Regions from separate parts of the Homo sapiens genome. Here region 1 is linked to region 2. Evidence: promoter capture Hi-C in human tissues and cell types (Jung and others, 2019). All regions are on one chromosome and are shown on one strand. The core of a region is centred on a gene start or on the middle of the fragment in contact, and the rest is flanking DNA. Distances in the headings are between cores, read along the strand shown. Region 1 overlaps PCM1 (pericentriolar material 1). Region 2 holds the start of CNOT7 (CCR4-NOT transcription complex subunit 7).

Evidence for each region. The method cuts DNA at HindIII sites, captures the fragments that hold promoters and counts their contacts. A contact is called where the count stands out against the background at its distance.
Region 1: a contact is called between a fragment that was not itself captured here and the fragment with the promoter of CNOT7 in region 2, in 1 of the 25 tissues and cell types used here (lymphoblastoid cells).

What each region holds. Positions count from the first base shown.
Region 1 is chr8:17,988,817-17,992,642 of GRCh38, forward strand. PCM1 (pericentriolar material 1) reads left to right here. Exons shown (of 39, transcript NM_006197.4): 27 at 1,043-1,163; 28 at 2,726-2,884. Among named protein-coding and RNA genes, the nearest start is that of PCM1, 68 kb to the left of the region's middle. The HindIII fragment of the contact is 6,094 bases long and covers 1-3,826 here.
Region 2 is chr8:17,244,962-17,249,086 of GRCh38, forward strand. It overlaps CNOT7 (CCR4-NOT transcription complex subunit 7), which reads right to left and starts at 1,896. Exons shown (of 7, transcript NM_013354.7): 1 at 1,714-1,896; 2 at 75-286. The coding sequence starts at 191. It overlaps VPS37A (VPS37A subunit of ESCRT-I), which reads left to right and starts at 1,997. Exons shown (of 12, transcript NM_152415.3): 1 at 1,997-2,408. The coding sequence starts at 2,284. RefSeq lists an enhancer at 1,645-2,493. The HindIII fragment of the contact is 14,692 bases long and covers 1-4,125 here.

The DNA of each region.
Region 1 (3,826 bases), core at 46-2,545, 740 kb after region 2:
GTTGGTGAGAATGTGGAACAGTTGGAACTCTCACAGTCCTTATGAGAATGTAAAATTGCACAACCACTTGGAAAGCAGTTTGGCAGTTGCTTATAAACATAAACGTGGCATGTGACCCAGCAATTTCTCTTCTAGGTATTCATCCAAGAGAAATGAAAATATGCATCACAAAAACACTTGCACATTAATGTTCATAGCATCTTTAGTCATGATAGCCTCAAACTGAAGCATCAAGAGATAAATGGATAAACAAACTGTGGTATATCTATACAGTGGAATACTGTGCAGCCATTAAAAAATAATTTCTGAACTTCTGAAACACAAAACATGGATTCATTTCAGAAACATACTAAGTGAAAAGTCAGACAATGAAGAGTGTATATTGGCTGGTTCCATTTGTATGAAGTTCTACAACCAGCAGAACTGATCTACAGTGATAGAAATCATGAGTAGGGTGTGGTGGAGATTGACTGTAGAGGGTTGTGAAGAAACGTCCTGGGCCAGTGGAAATGGTCTTTATCTTTAGGGAATCTGGTTACATGAGTGTATACATTTGTCAAAACTCATCAAACTGTACATTTAAAGTGAGTGCATTGTATATTAATTATATTTCAATAAAGTTTATTTTTTAAAAATGCAAATGATGTTGTGATGTTTTCTTTTCTGATGTGAGACAACCAGGTAGAGTAAGCTACTAGACATTGTTAGCATTTGGAGATAGGAGAATGTCCCTGAGAGTATAGAAATAATGTAAAATGTTAACTTTGCCAAATTAGAATTTAATCAGTAGCTGTCTTTGTGTGTGTTTATCTACATAATAAATATTCTGCAAGGCTACTTATATCACTGTTCTCTGTGACTCTGTATTCAGCGTTTAATAACTTTGGTTATATTATCATCTTGTTTGGACAGAATACTGAGGAAACTTATGAATATCTTTTAAGTGTACAATTTTATGTAAATACTTAGTTATCTCTGTTAGATTATTAATATGAAATTCTTAGAAGTATTAGTGATTTTTGTTTGTTTTACTGTAACTTAGGAAACTTTTGAGAAGAACTTTGAAAGAGAAACCCATAAAATAAGTGAGCAAAATGATGCTGATAATGCTAGTGTCCTGTCTGTATCATCAAATTTTGAGCCTTTTGCAACAGATGATCTAGGTAAGCAGAATTGTTTATAATCTTAGAAACAACTTTAAGTTGATCTGGTCCAGTCTTTGAATTGGCGTTGATAAGGAAACAAGTCTAGAAAGGCGAAGTGTGTGTGGTTGAAAGAATGTGGACTTAATTATCTATCAGTCTAAAATCAAGAATCTTCTGACTCTTAACCCTGTGAGCAAATCATCCAACATTTTTGACTCTGCATATACTAAGGAAATGGGAATTTTAACCTACCTTGCTATGTTCTTGTGAAAATATAATGTAACTTACTTGCTTGAGTTCAGAAAATGTTAATTTCCTTTTCCTTAAAGGAAAGGTCATCGTTTAAGGTCATCTAGTTAATTCATGGGAACAATTCAGGCCTCATCTAATCATATTTTTAATAAAAATATTAACTTTGTAATTTGAGTTAAGCAGTCAGTTTTCTTAAATAACCTGTAGTGAAAACCTCAAGTAATTCTCAGGCATAGCAAATGGTTTTGGTTGTTTTTTTTTGTTTGTTTGGGTTTTTTTTTTTTTCCCCCTCTCCCATCAGCTGTAAAACAAAAGAGGTTTAGAGGGTTGCCTGGCTGCAGTGGAGAAAAAATTCGAGTCCTAGACTTGGAAAGGAAATTTAAGGAAAAGAAAAATATGTAGATACTTGATACGTTTCTAGACTGTGGCCAATCAAAAGAGAACCTGAGAATTCAGTCATTTGCCATCCAGGGTGCTTAGTTGATAAAATAATGTAATGTCCTGTTACTCTAGTGTTTGTTCACGTGATGAAGAGAAGACTTAGATTATTTCAAAGGTATTTTTCCACTATAAAGAAAAGGACTTAGCCTTGCCCTATCATTACATTCCTACTGTTCGCCAAAACAAAAGTCTTCCTTTTGCTTATTGTAATTATTGAGGACTCAGCCTTAGCTGACCTCTAAGTAAATGCTTATTTGGGTCTGCATTGAGTTCATCCCATTACAGAGAAAAATTACTGTGTGGCCTGCCAACCCTCACCCCTTAGGTTGTCCCTCTCTTTCTGAGTTGCCAGAATACTTCGACTCCTACGTATTTTCTTTCATTTACTGGTATTTTTTTTTTTTTCTTACAAACCTGCACCAGTAGCTGTGTCTGAAGTAGACATAGAATTGGGAAATTTCATTGATAGGCCTTTTTCTTACCTAATTTGCTTGTTTTAGGTTGCGTTGTTTTCATCAGAATTTGCATGACATTTTGGAATTCACTTGTATTGTTTAAATGAAACAACAAAATGAAATAAATATGGGCTTCAGAGTTTGATAACTAAGTTTAAATCCTTGTTCCTACATTGAACTGTCTGTGAAAGCTTGAGCAAGTTACTTAAATTTTCTGCAAATGAAAGTAATGTCATCTACTATATAGGATTATTTTAAGGATTAAATAAGTGTGACAATGTATATGAAGTGCTCAAGTAGTATAGTGTGTAGAACTTGTTAAAGCTAATTTTCCTCCCTTTTGTTTGGACATTTTTTTATTAATGCATTTTGAGGAATATATGAAAAAGTTCACTTTTACATACTCAAAAAATATTTTTGTTCCAAATGTAGGTAACACCGTGATTCACTTAGATCAAGCATTAGCCAGAATGAGAGAATATGAGCGTATGAAGACTGAGGCTGAAAGTAACTCAAATATGAGATGCACCTGCAGGATTATTGAGGATGGAGATGGTGCTGGTGCAGGTACTACAGTTAATAATTTAGAAGGTATATATTTTTGTTTTCGGTAGGTTTTTGGAGAACAGGTGGTGTTTGGTTACATGAATAAGTTCTTTAGTGGTGATTTCTGAGATTTTGGTGCACCCATCGCCTGAGCAGTATACACTGTACCCAGTGTGTATTGTTTGATCCCTCACCCCCTTCCCACCCTTTCCCCTGAAACCCCAAAGTCCACTGTATCCTGCTTATGTCTTTGCATACTCATAGCTTAGCTACCACTTATGAGTGAGAACATGCAACGTTTGGTTTTCCATTCCTAAGTTACATCACTTAGATTAACGGTCTCCAACTCTACCCAGATGGCTGCAAATGCCATTACTTTGTTCCTTTTTATGGCTAAGTAGTATGCTGTGGTGTATAAATAAATAAACAAATATATCTGTCTATCTACACATATATACATATACCACATTTTCTTTATCCGCTCGTTGATTGATGGACATTTGGACTGGTTCCATATTTTGCAACTGCAGATTGTGCTGCTATAAACATGCACGTGCAAGTATCTTTTTCATATAATGACTTCTTTTCTTCTGGGCAGATACCTAGTAGTGAGATTGTTGGATCAAATGGTGGATCTACTTTCAGTTGTTTAAGGAATCTTCATACTGTTTTCCATAGTGGTTGTACTAGTTAGTTTACATGCCCACCAGCAGTGTAAAATTGTTCCCTTTTTACCACATCCACACTAACATCTATTATTTTTTGATTTTTAAATTACGGCCATTCTTGCAGGAGTAGGATGGTATCACATTGTAGTTTGTGCTTTGATTTGCATTTTCCTGATAATTAGTGATGTTAGAGCATTTTTTCACTCAACATCACCAAAAAGTTTTTTGGCCATTTGTGTGTCTTCTTTTGAGAGGAGTTGTCTATATCCTTAGCCTACTACTACTACTTTTTTTTTTTTTTTTTTTTAATTTGAGCACA
Region 2 (4,125 bases), core at 646-3,145:
GTTGAATTCAAGACTTTAAAATTTCCTTTTCCTCCTTTATATGAAGCGTTTTAAAGATCTGCTTGTGGGCATACCATAGCAACGTAATTATATTTTCGGATAACTTGACGAATTTTCTTCATCTCTTCATCCAAGTTGCAAGCCCAAACTTCACAAATTCTTTGGCTATGATCTACAGTTGCCGCTGGCATAGTGAGGGCACAAGGGAGTCTAGATGCCAAGCATCAAAATGTTATACTTGATTGAAGATTTGTTTCATAAAATATTTTATCCTTTATTTATGTACCTGTCAAAATAAAAAAACAATATGAAGACCAGATATATCAAATCTGAATCACAGAATAATTGATCCAGCAGGAACCTAAGAAGTTATTTATTCAAAGTTCTTGACTCATAAAAAAAAAAAATCAAAGTTTAGAAAGTAACTTAAGGTCACACAGCTAGTCTATAGGAAAAAAAGGACTACAGTACAGATTTCCTGGTCCTAATTTCAGTTATTTTAAAATAGCTTTTTTACACATACATACTAATCATATTTTATAACTTTCCACTAATTATTTATCTGAGTTCAACTACTCTGCATAAAACTTTATAAAGCCATCCATTTCCAGACAAAAAATGAAAAATTACTTATTTACATGTGACAAGATCAGATGTTACCATGGCAAAGATGGTGTTTATTTTTATTCCTCATTAATAAAACAACCAAAATCCGACTTGATAACAAGATCTACTTTACCGGCGTTTATTCTAACTAGACTAGAGGGGTCAAAAATGTTTGTAAATGCTCTGAGAAAAAAGTAACGGCCATGAAAATTATCTGAATGTTCGCAGTTGCAGAACGGAAAAAGAACACAATAGAACGTCTAAAACTTAGAGCATATTGCATGGTTACCAAAGATAGATGTCACATTTCTGGTCTATAAACAGAGTTCCTGTTGATTCTTGGGCAGGGAAATTTCAAATCCTTCTGCATTTTTCATACAAATTGGAAAAAAAAAAAACAAGAGTAAAAAGAGGGTCTTATGACTGTCTTCTAAACTCTGAAGAGTCACAAATGTAACTTCCAATTCTCCAAGTAGAGAAACTAAAGGAGATCCAGGACACCCCTCCTTTATAACTCTCCCACCCCGATAGGCACACACACACACATAAGCACAAAAACACAAAGACTTGGAAAGACCCTGTAGTCTAACATTGTTTTCCTCCACCTCTCTCTCTACTGCAGTCCCAGAAGCCCCGAAGAGACACCAAAGGCCTTCTCATTACTGGAGAAAGCATCTCCGTACTGCAGTTTCCCAGAGAAACGAGAGGACGGCACCGAGGTATTCAAGCCATAGATAACTCTCTTCCCTGGCAAAGCGCCAGTGCGAAGGTGCTGATAACACTGACTGGAGCTACACTGACTCCCAAGCACTGCCGCGTGAAACAATACGAAGAGGTGAGGATCTAGGCCACCGCCCTCCACTCCCAATTTCCGTCCCACTGCGAAGCCCCAGGTACAAAGCCTTTGCGTCATCACTACGCGCCAACCCCTTGACAAACCCCCAGCCCCAGTTACCCAGCCCCCAACCCGCCGCCAGGCTCCTTCCTCCGCCAGCCGCACTCCAGCTGGCGCCATCGCGCACCCTCTCAGGTTCATCGTCCCCGCCCCCTTTCTACTTCCCTAACCCGCCCCTCCCCCCGTAAGGCTGCAGCGGATGCAAGATCTACTTGTGTCGCTGAGCTCGCGCTCCTCCTCCTCCTCCTCGCCATAGAGACAGCACTCGGCGGCGGTGGCGGTGGCGGTGGCGGTAGCGGCGGCGGCAGCGGGTGCCCCATAGACACCTCTCGCCCAGCGAAGGGAAAGGCGAGCAGGAGCTGCGCCGCACCGTGCTGCGCCGTCGCTTTTCGCACGTCCTGACGGGGGCGCTAGATGATGACGCGACACGCAGAGGGGGCGGAGAGCGCCCCCGGGGGCGGGGCACGCAAGTGACGGCGGCGCGGGTGGTGGAGCGCTGGGCGGCCAGGCTCCCTGGCTGGCCGGTTTGGGCGTCTGGGCCGTGAAGGTGGGACCTCCTGTTCCGGGCCGCAAGTTTCCCTCTCCAGCCGCCCGCCGTTCGTAGCATGTCCCCCAGAACTCGGGGAGCGCAGGCAGGACAGGCTTAGAGAAGACGCGGTCCCCAGCGCTTGGGCCACGGACGTCCCACCCCGCTCCTCTGTCGCTGGAGAACCGCCGGGCCGAGCCACTGGGAGAAGCAGGCCAGAGCCTTCCAGGGCCTCCGGCCCGTGGACCCGAGGAGGATGAGCTGGCTTTTTCCCCTGACCAAGAGCGCCTCCTCCTCCGCGGCTGGGTCCCCCGGTGGCCTCACCAGCCTCCAGCAGCAGAAGCAGCGCCTGATCGAGTCCCTCCGGAACTCACACTCCAGGTGACTGGTCGCTGCCTCTCCACCGGAGGAAAAAGTAGGGTGGGAGGGCGGGCTTGTCCTAACCACCCTCACAGCGCCTCAGTCTGCTCCCCACCAGCTCCTCATGTGGTTTACCTCCCTTGGTTGTGGGTCACACGCTTGCTCTGCCACTCCTGCCCCCTTTTACTGTTTTCCTCCGGACCCTCCCTGCCTCCTGCCGCACCACTGCTCAGCGCTTCTAACTCGGATTTCCTCATCCCTCCTGACACATAGCTGCTGACTGTAATCTCTCAATCTCTCTCATAGTCTATTTCCAGTATCCCTTGCTGCCCAGGCTTCGCCACTGATCTTTCCCTTTGCCCACCTGATTGCCGCGTCAGCAGAATTGTTAAAATACAATTGTGAAGAGTAATCTCCAGGTTTCACAAAGAATGGAAAATAGAACTGTTGCAACATCAAAGGAAAGGGAAGCCAGAGTTTTCATCAGTGAATGCTTCTCGTCTGAGAGTCACTTATCACGTAGTCAGTCTTCTTGAGTCTCTAAGATTTACCCTGTTGGAGCAGTCTCTCCCCATCTCACAGCGACCAGTGCATGTACATTTCTCACTTCTTTCATAGTCTTGTCCCCACGCTCAAGAATTACTTTATGTTCATCTTGATTGTTCTGTTGTCTTCCTGTGAGTTTTTCATTTTATCATGGTCAGTTTAGAAATATTTTTACAATTCATATTATTTCAACTTTTACTGTAAATTGGTTTGCTGCAGCCTTTTACATTGCAAATGTCTATGGTCTCTAATGGTTTTCAAAAATTAGAACTGCTTCTTTATATTTTATGCATTTTGCAAGTATATTTACTTAACAGTTTCACACTATTTTAAATAAAGATGACAACATTGTTAAGTCCCTAACCCCTTTTTTTTTTTTTTTTTTTGCCGGGGGTACGGCTCTCCTGTTGCCCAGGCTGGAGCGCAGTGGCGCGATCTCGGTTCACTGCAACCTCCGTCTCCCGGATTCAAGCAATCATCCTCCCTCAGCTCCCCACACCCCTCCGAGTAGCTGGGATTACAGGTGCGCGCCACCATGCGCGGCTAATATTTTGTATTTTTAGTAGAGACGGGGTTTCACCACATTGGTCAGGCTGGTCTCGAACTCCTGACCTTAGATTATCCACCCGCTTCGGCCTCCCAAAGTGCTGGGATTACAGGAATAAGCCACCTCGCCGGGCTCCTAGCCCTTTTAAAAATATTATTTTCATACAGTTAAAAAATATGTATCCTCAGATAATATCGAATAATTCTTATTTAAAATGGAATAATTTTTAATTAAATAGTCTAGTTAATAGAAAAATTTACTGCAAAATCAGTTTGGCTAAAATAAGGCCTGATGCTGACTGAACTTTAGGTGTTTCTTGGTTCGTTGTCTCAATTGTTCTGTTTGTTCAGAACTTTCAAAAGGTGAAATTTTATGCTGTTTAACAGAAAAGAATGGCAGGCTGTTATTGGTGGCTTTCATTCTGGAAAATTAAGTTCGCAAAGTTCTTACAAGTCACTCTTACTCCAAATCATGTTCTGTACTGACCTTTAAGAGCTACTCTCACAAGGTATGCTTATAAAATAAGGGGACTCGTTTTTAACATGTTTGTTCCCTTAGAAGTTGTTACCTTGGTAGACTATATACCAAACCAGTCCTGCTATTGCAGAAACACTTTTTTAGAACCACACTTTTGGAATTAATTGC